2 separate regions of the Homo sapiens genome follow, and region 2 is linked to region 1. Evidence: promoter capture Hi-C in 16 types of primary human blood cells and fetal thymus (Javierre and others, 2016). All regions are on one chromosome and are shown on one strand. Each heading gives the region's core, a stretch centred on a gene start or on the middle of the fragment in contact. The rest is flanking DNA. Distances are from core to core; before and after follow the strand shown.

Evidence for each region. Contacts are between HindIII fragments. The CHiCAGO score rates a contact against its expected background, and 5 or more counts as called.
Region 2: the fragment with the promoter of SPRR2G here is called in contact with the fragment with the promoter of SPRR2F in region 1 in 1 of 17 cell types (naive CD4 T cells); the score reaches 5.2 in naive CD4 T cells.

The regions. Positions count from the first base shown.
Region 1 is chr1:153,112,014-153,116,653 of GRCh38, reverse strand. SPRR2F (small proline rich protein 2F) reads left to right here and starts at 3,138. Exons shown (of 2, transcript NM_001014450.3): 1 at 3,138-3,180; 2 at 3,902-4,533. The coding sequence starts at 3,921. The coding sequence ends at 4,139. The HindIII fragment of the contact is 1,668 bases long and covers 1,733-3,400 here.
Region 2 is chr1:153,148,487-153,153,719 of GRCh38, reverse strand. It overlaps SPRR2G (small proline rich protein 2G), which reads left to right and starts at 2,830. Exons shown (of 2, transcript NM_001014291.4): 1 at 2,830-2,868; 2 at 3,589-4,138. The coding sequence starts at 3,610. The coding sequence ends at 3,831. The HindIII fragment of the contact is 711 bases long and covers 2,180-2,890 here.

The DNA of each region.
Region 1 (4,640 bases), core at 1,889-4,388:
TTAGGAATTTTCTTCAAGAAAGATTATAATAGGGAGGTAATTAAATGTTGGGGTATAATAATAAAACAATTCCTACTCACGTCCAGCCCCACCTTTGGTGTTTGGCCAGAGATGCTTAAAAGGAAAAAGATCATTATCTCACTAATTGAGCTATGGACAGACTTGTCTCTTGTTAGCTTTTCAAAGCAGAATTTTAAGTCTTTACAAAATAATAGGTAACATTTGGAGAATATTTTGAAAAGGAAAATAAGAAAATAAAAATCATCTGTAATTACACCAACCAAACAGAATCACATTTAATAAAATGTTTTAGGTATTTCTTATCTTTTCATACATAAATGTTAAAATGTTGTCATGCTTTATATATGCTTTTACTATAATTTGAATGTTTTAAATAATATTAAATAGTCTTCTAAAACATCCTCCCTAATGATCTTAAGAATTCTGCAACATTAATGTCCCATAATTTATCTGATTAAGCAAAATTATGGAATAATGATGGAATGTAAGCCTATATTCAGGAATAAAACAGAAGCAGAAATTCACAGAGACTTAGAGTGATTTATTTAAGGCTAGGAAAATCTTCCCACAATTCCTGTTTCTTCTTGCATGTTTGATGGCAGAATATTAATTTGCCAGGACTATTTTGTTTAATGGTGTAAAATGCATAGTAGTAAAATGTGAGATAGAAGTTGAATCAAGAATAACACAAAAGTTCAAAAGCTTTTGTTCTTTCTTGTCATTTTTATGTAGTAATGATTTAAACTTAATAATCCCTTCAAAAATTATGGAGTAAAAGTAGGAGAAATGGACCTAAGGCTATCAGACTGTTAAAGAACATAAAGCTAACTTCTTTATATATGTGGAGAGATAATAGAAAGGTAGATGGATAGATAGATGACACATTAGATAGATAGAAGATAGATAGATAGATAGATAGACACACACCCATGGTGGGTATGTGTGTGTGTGTAAAGTATGCCTTGCTGCATGTCTCAGGGCCTGGATGTCCTAACTTGGGGAAGCTGTGACTGTTAGCTGCCCCTCTTCATGTTGTGGCCATTCCTCATGTAGCTGGTCTGTGAGAAACTCTGAATTTCAAGTTCACTTGTAAAGTGAGCCTGTCTGAGATGCTGGGGGCACTAGGGCTGCTGCCACTCTGGTGCCTGCACTGCTGTGATAAACAGCCTGTTTGAGTGGGGTGTTCTCAGAAGGGGAGTCTCAGGGCATGACTCAAACTGTATTATCTTACACAGTGATCTCATTTGGCAGCCAATTCTCCAATTTTGCATGTTAGAAATCAGACATTTCTCTAAGGATTTGTGTTTTAGATGTGATGTGAGGCTGTTGGGGAGTAGTAAGTGACCTATTGAATAAAGGCCCTTTACTTTGTCCCCTGATGTGCTTAGCATGCGTAATAGTCTGTAGGGGTAATTTGGTGAGAACACCATTTGTAAATACCTGGCCTTAAGGTGCTGACGTGATGTCTTTATTTCTGTACTGTCCTGGCCAGTAGTGATCTTGCCCCAAAGCCCTTCCTTATTGACGGGAGCAATGGCAGCTCTGGGAACCTAACCTGCTTAACTGAGGGATGTGATGCTGGGTTGATTCAGCACTCCTACCCTTCCTGGAGCATAGCTGGTGACTGCTCCAATGATTTTGAGTCTTTCCTCTTCCTCTTCCTCATTTTCCTTTCTTCTTCTCCAACTATAAACCACATTCTTGGAAAGCTTTCTGACTACTGGTCTAAGGAAGCTCTAGCAACATCAACTTAAATATTTAATATACCATGTTTAGTAAGCCTCACTAATTGCTGGAAGAGTTTACAAAAGATATGAAAGAGGAGTCACTATATGCATTGACAATATATATGTTGAGTGAACAATATGTACCAAAATGAATAGATGAGAGGTGTACATTGGGGTGTGACTTGATAATCTAGCAGGTCATGAGACTAGGGGGCTTATGGAAAAGACAGAGAAAGAACATGCAAACAAATTAAAAAACACTGAGAAACACCTAAAACCTGTTTAGAAACAGAGGGGAAGAATACATATTAGATTATACTTAATTTGTATTTTCCCCCAGATTTCAGACTTTAGGTGCGCTGACCATCTCCACTCTGCAAACCTACTTCTAATTATTCACATATGATAATGTGAGTCTATGCAGATTGTGCTCTATAGGGTGGTTTCAGGGAATCATATAGGCATGGTTCAATACATAGATTTTGAATGAATGCTTGTAATTTTGTTTCATGTCTCTCCGTTTCCTTAATGTGGTAGCAAAGAATACATTTTTATAAATAAAAAGGCGCTAGTATACATCCTTAATGGCAGCAAGTAGCAAATGTGCTGGGGAGACTGGCTGTCACTCTGGAATCTGTCCCAGGTGACAATTGCCTGTACAAATTGGGTGGAGAAGACAGCTTCAAAGAGGAAAGGAAAATCGTAAAATCCAGGGTTCTATGAGAGAGAAAGATAGAAGTGGAGGAGAAAGTTTCTGGCTTGAACAGGGTCAGCAGATGGCACAATGCGGTCAGCTCCCATCTCCAGAGGTAAGTATGATTCTCCCCTGCTTATAATCACAGGGAGGAGAGGTGACCTGCCTGTGGTCACACAACTTAGCAACAAAAAAAAAAAAAAAAAAAAAAAAAAAAAATCTGGGACCAGAACCCAGGCCTTTGTTAGGTCTCTCCTTCCTTTTAGCGCATTGGCAAATTGTACAAGGAAAGTAGAGGTGGAGATGGGTTCATGTACAACAATATGGCATTCAGTAAAGTGGATCAGGACAGGAAGTTTTATGATTTAGGGAAGGTGTAAGACAGGAAAGGATCATTGCCCCCAGTCAAAAAAGAGAGCCCTTGACCACCAGTTAGAGAATCCCCCAAGTCCCTCTTTGCCATAGGTCACTGAAACTGAGATCTAAGGCAGGGCCTCTGTGAGTCAGGAGCACTTAACCCAGTGGGGAGATCCCAGAACAGGATATTTCCTAGTTTGATAATCACTGTCAGGCCAGTTGTGGATAAATTTGCATTTGGCTTAAGAAATTACTGGATAAGTGTAGCTTTTGGCAGTTACACTTTCTGCTGGGAGGGGTAGCAGGCCCTATAAAGAGGTTTTCTGCTGCACGACTCCTAAACTCCTGGTACCTAAGCACCGATCTGCCTTGGAGAACCTGGTGAGTCGGCTTCCTGGAGTTCCTCTGTTCTTTGTGCCCTGAAATGTTGAATTTAATCTGAATACAGCAAGTTTGGTTGATCCAATCCTATGAATGTTGATTTGATGCTACTTAGTGGATGGAAATTTAGGATTAGAGCACAATGATATGCTATTTTAGCTTTCTTTTAGTACAGAGTTAGGTGTTCATATGGACAGAGAAGTTAGTTAAGGGGAAAGCTTTGATTTGAAGAAGAAAAAATAACAAAGTATTTTTCTTTTTTTCTCTGCTTTTCTGGTGTCCTTTTCAAAGGTTTATGTCGTAGCAGGTGTGAGAGCATGCAATTCTTCCCAAACAGTCGTTTTCTGTGTGCCTATGTCAACCCACTGGGATTTTACAACAGATAATGATAACAGGAATAGCTTGTGAGATAGCCCTGGGTATCTGAACTTGTGACTGCCTTTCTTGAAGATGTTATTTTCATAGAAATAACATGCTTGGTTGTTTACTACAGAGATATTTTCTTTGGAAAAATTATATGAGAAAACACAAGAGTTCCCAGGGACAATGAAGTAATTCGCTGAAGTGGAAGTGAGAAGCCAGGGACTCTTGAAAAGGGAATTAAGAGTTTAAATAATTTCTTGGAGATTGGAGAAATAATATGCCATGGTATTACATAAGCTTTGGCTTCTCTCTCTGGAGGATTCCCTTCCCGTGAACACTGTCATATAATTTCTTTCAGATTCTGAGACTCCAGCAGGATGTCTTATCAACAGCAGCAGTGCAAGCAGCCCTGCCAGCCACCTCCTGTGTGCCCCGCGCCAAAGTGCCCAGAGCCATGTCCACCCCCGAAGTGCCCTGAGCCCTGCCCACCATCAAAGTGTCCACAGTCCTGCCCACCTCAGCAGTGCCAGCAGAAATGTCCTCCTGTGACACCTTCCCCACCCTGCCAGCCAAAGTGTCCACCCAAGAGCAAGTAACAGCTTCAGGATTCATCAGGAGCATGAAAGGATAAGGATAATTGGCTCACCTCGTTCCACAGCTCCACCTGCATCTTCTCATCAAAGCCATCCAGGGATACACAGGGAGCTTCTTTCCTCTTAGCCTGTGATCGGCCTGTGATGATCTCTGATAGCAAAAGGTTTTCTTTTTGAGGCTGCCATACTGCCACTGTCCAGGTGGAGACTGAGCAAAGGAAGTCCTGGGCTGTGCCAGCTCCCAGAGCTTCAGAAGAAAGAGCAGCTCTCTCCCTGGGAACCATTAGAGAATTCTGTTGATGTTTTCTGTGTCTGTCTGTCCCCTGGGCATGAGCTTCCACCACCTGTGCAGTTGTCACTTTCCTTTCACTCCCTGAATAAAGAATCTATGCATATATATTTGTGAATGGATCTTTTGTTTCTTTTCAAATATGCTTTATTAGCAATATTTTATAATCATTTGGGTATATTTCCACTTTTCTTTCATCCACAGACAGGATCTCA
Region 2 (5,233 bases), core at 1,581-4,080, 37 kb before region 1:
GTAAAATCAAATGGCCCTTGGGAAATGTCATCCTCTCTCTCTTTCCCCTTTCCTCTTCTTTCCACTCGCCTGTCTTCTACCCTCTCTACCTTCCTTCGTTTCTTCATTTCTGGGACTCCCATAAAATAGCTTTGTCCTTCTTTTCAAAATCTTTAGGCAAATCAGGAACTTTGGGACCAGGTAATTCAGCCTCATAATTCCCAGCTTTACACGGTTGTTTTACTAGGCTTACTATTTATTTTATTTGCACCTTACAAAAATGTCCGTCAGAGAAGTATTATTATTACCATTTCTCAATGAAGAAACTGAAAATTGCAGAAATGTTAAGAAAATTGCTCAAATTTACACACCTAATTAGGACTTAACTCAATCATTGTGTTTATACAGTGCCAGTTTGCTAACATAGTATTTACTCACAGATTTATTTATTTCAATTTTAAAATATCTTTGAACATTTAAATATTTAAACACTTTGAATAAGCAAAAAATATACATGATACCAAAATTCAAAAGAGAAGAAAATGGTCATGCAGTGAAAAGTTAGTCTCTCCCCCACTCCTATTCCCTAGATACTTAACTATTCTCCTGAGATAACCACGGTTACTAGTTTATAAGTAAACTCCAGCAAACCCTCATGTAGATACTATGTGAGTTTCAGAGGTTTAATTTGCACAGAGTGCTTCAAGTGCCCATTATTTGTGAAAAATGAGGATCATCTGTCCTTTAGCTATTTTCTCTCTCTATAAAAAAACTGTCCTTTGTGAAGCTGGCAAACCTCATTAAGCATTCTTTTCTGAAAAGCCCAATCCTCCTTCAGTTTATCAAGCATAAATGATAAACCAAATAATTTATTGGTAAAAATAACTTTGGAATCTATTAGTAATTCATGAGGCAAAGAAAAGTAGGTCTAAAATTGTGTTGATAGAACTGTTTTAAGTCACGTAATCCTTAGCTAATTCTTCAGCATGCATCAGCTATGGTTCCTAGGATTTCAACATGAGAAAGAACGCTGTGAAAGTGCCTCACCCATCCCAGGAGCATCCCTGTTCCTTCTGGCATCCCTGAAGTGTGTCAGTTTCCTGATAGTAACTTAGATGACTAAATTGTTTAGTTTCAGAGTACTAGGGAGGGATAACTAGCCTCATGTTGTTCCTCTGAGATGCTGAGAAAGAATTTAATAGTAGGGCTCAACTCAAAGACGTTCCTACCTCTTCAAATTCCCATGTTAGGTCCTCAGTTTTTTTTGTTTCTCTACTGTACCAACCCAATCAAGTTTGAAACATTGCAGATACAACACAGCATTCTTCTGGGTAAAGAGCACAAGGCAAAAATCTTCCCTGAGAGGGGCTTTCTCAGGAAAACAAGGTGCCGACCCTGTAGGTGCTATGGTACCCATGCCGTCTAATTAGTAGTGACTACAGCTAGAAGAATGGGGGATGCAGGGAAAGGATCTTCACTAGATAGGCCTCACTCTAAACAATGCCATTCTTTATTATCTGTTTTTGACATGTTTGAAATTATTGGTTAGTTATGATTAGTTATTATTCTTATTTCTTCTACATTTTAGAGTTTATATTTCTTAGAAGACCCACTATGTAATGTGCATAATTTTAGGCCACTCTTTGAGTTTTTGTAGGAGACTTTTGTGGTAGGTGTATTTTTTATTTCTGTTTTACAGCTGTGTAAACTGTGTTTCAAGGAGGTTAGGAAATATTTAGTTCCACACAGTAGTGGTGGCTGTAGATGTATGCATAACCAAGGTACTCAAGTTTTTTCCAAGTTGGGACAGTGAGTAATACTAGCTGAAGTGTTAATATGGTTAAATAAGCTATACTAAGAAATTATCCGTGGGATCTGTGCCAGCTATACTTTACTTATTTAGGTAAAAACATCCATGAAGTAAACAGCAGGATAAATAGCTTTACAGAACTTCACTCCTCGAATGTGCAAAGAAAGCCTGAAATCCTACTAAATGTCATTTCAAAAGAGAGAAATTGTGAAGGAGTAAATTGAATTAGCATGTAGGAGAAAAGCTTCAAAATGGATGCAGCACATACATTAAGGCAGTTTGGAAGAAAATGGGAGAAGATGAGTTTGGATTTCTAGTAGACCACAAGTCACTCATAGTTACAAGGGCCACAGAGATGAGGTTAGTGTGTAAATCTGCAAATGTGAAGCTTTAAGAAGGGGCCCCAACATGACTCTAATGGCCTAGAAAACTGAGAGATGATGTTGCCTTGTTCAAGCCCATTAATACCATGTCAGAACACACCCAGGTTGGGGCTGTCAGCATCTAGGAAGCTGATATATGATTTTGTCACCCTGTTCAAGTCAATTAATTGTCAAGAAAAGCCTAAGGATCAATAGGCCATGATAAAAGGGGAAGTTAGTTGTAAAGAAAAACTGCAGTTGAGGGTTAGGATATAGCCAGGCTGCAGGATCAGCACATACTGGTCTCTACTAAAGAGAACACAGCTAGATACTGGGCATGTGCAACTGAATGGGAGTAGTTTTACATACAGGATACTTTGGAAGCTGGGAAGTAGGAGAAGCACCATCTCTAATTATAGGGAAGCACCACAATTGTCAGACAATTTGTCACGTTCTACAATTGCCACTGGCATGAGGAACCTGAGATAATGTCCCAAGTGAATCACTGTGCACTTATCCTGCTGGGGAGGATCATGGACTAGGAATTTTGTGATACCAGCATGGATTACATGCAAGTGGTATTTTGGTTGGGAAATAAGCACATCATGCTAGTCCTGGGCTGTTCCCTGTGTAGGGCTGCCTGCCCCTTATAAAAGGACTCTCCACCACACTGATGCTATCTTCTTGCCATTCAGTTGTAGATCTTTGAAGACTCTGGTGAGTACAAATATTAGAAGCTTTTCTTGCACTTGGATGGTGTTAGGGTCTAACCTGGGTACAGAAATGCCTGTTTATTTTAACCAATTTATCCTCATGGATAGGAAAAAGAAGATAATGAGGTCTTGAAGGTAAATTTTAGCTGGTATTTGGTAGATAAACATGAAGGTGATGAGGAACCTGGAGTCAAATATATAAAATCTTAAACTGAAGGAGAGTGAGAGACACAAGATGCTGTTCTGTCTCCTGCTTCACATCTGTTCCAAATACATCTCTCTTGGAGTGCAATCTCCTTGGGTGATGGGTGCAAGTTTTTGCAATTCTCTTAAAAAACTCATGGCTCAGCACCACAGCCAGCTCATTAAAACTGGTAACTAGGGCCTCATGGAAGATAAGAGCACAGATTTGTTTGGTATTGGCTAGACTTTTAATATCTGAGTTTTTCTTCTTCAGATAGTGTTTGTATTCAGACAACATTTGTTGCTGTCTCATAGGCAATTTTATTTTCAGAAAATGGTAGAATGAGAGAACAGCCAGAAAGACGGAAGAACTGAGGGTAAGAGGTCCTAAAAGTGAAGTGTGAAGAAGGTTCACAAAGTCATAAAGACTGTATTAGGGATCAAAGTTGGTCCCTAGATACTGGAGATTTGATGTCCTAGCTAATTGCTCCACCAACAGGACTGTCTCTCTTATGAGCACTGTTTCGTATGTATCTTTCAGATTCTCTGAGACTGAGGAGAGATGTCTTACCAGCAGCAGCAGTGCAAGCAGCCCTGCCAGCCACCTCCTGTGTGCCCCACGCCAAAGTGCCCAGAGCCATGTCCACCCCCGAAGTGCCCTGAGCCTTACCTGCCTCCTCCTTGTCCACCTGAGCATTGCCCACCTCCACCATGCCAGGATAAATGCCCTCCTGTGCAACCATACCCACCCTGCCAGCAGAAGTATCCACCCAAGAGCAAGTAACATCACTAGAATTCATCAGGACCATGAAACAACAAGATCCAGTGGCTCTTCTTACTCCCAGGACTCCATCATCTTCCCTTCAGCTGTAGTGGGAGGCTGCATCTTCCCTAACCTCTGTCTGGCTTGAGCGTTGACAGAGAAAAGGCTTAGTTCTGAAAACCGATATGTTGTTGGAAGATGAGCAGCCAGATCACTGCCTAATCTCGCTTTGCTGTCTGTGATGTAGATGGTGGTTCCTATCCTGAGAGCAAGTGTGTTTATTCTTTTGCTTCTCCCCAATAAAGCACATGTTTCATGGTCAAGCCCACATTGCTTTTGTTTGCATTTCGTGTCTTTAACCTCTTCTGTTAACTACACCAAGTGAATGTTCCTTTTCATTCCTATTGAATTATTAGAATTATTAGGCTTTTCCATCACTGAATTCAGTGTTGCGTGCAATGTGTGTTTTGGATTCGGTACAACAAATAATTCTCTTTTATTGGTTTAAAACTCATTTTTACCCCTTCTAGCTTGTATGGCTGAAAAAATTACCTAAACTCTCTTAGCTTCAGTTTCATCATCTGTAAAAAGTAAGAGAGCATGTATTCAGCTGAGTGTACTCATAGCAATTGATTTATTCACAAATGTTTCCTAATTGTCTATCATGTGCCAGCCAGTCTTCTATGCACTGCTGATAGGGATAATGATGACCAAACAAAGTCCTTGCTCTTATAGAGTCTACAGTCTTAAGAGAGTTACATATCACCCCCACCCCCCGACCCCCACACACCTCCCACACACAGGACAAATTATAGTAATACATGGGCTATATTTAAAGAAAATTATTTAGAAAGACCCTTTGAAGTGACTTTTGGCTCAAAGACATGAATGAATAGAAGAGGGAGCCATGGGTATATCAGGGGTAGATTGTTCCTGTTGGAAGAAATGGCCAGTGCTAAAGAAATACAAAATAACATTAGCCGGGCGTGGTGGTGGGCGCCTGTAGTCCCAGCTACTCGGGAGGCTGAGGCAGGAGAATGGCGTGAATCCGAGAGGCGGGCTTGCAGTGAGCCGAGATCGTGCCACTGGACTCCAGCATGGGCGACAGAGCGAGACTCTGTCTCAAAAAAAAAAAAAAAAAAAAAAAAAAAAGAAATACAAAATAACAAAAAGGAAAATGGTGGTCAAGGAGAAATGTCTGCAAATGAGGTCAGAGAGGTTGGATCTCTAGGATACAGTCATGATTTCGATATATACTTGAAGTTTGACAGCCATCTTAGGATGGTCAAAGTCTTGAAATTTTATTGTACATAACTCAACAATTGTATATAATTACTTTTGCATAGCATTTCAACCAGAAGTACATAGGGTATTTCAAACATATTTTTTTAAAAGTTGAAAAGAACTGAGGAATTAATTAAAA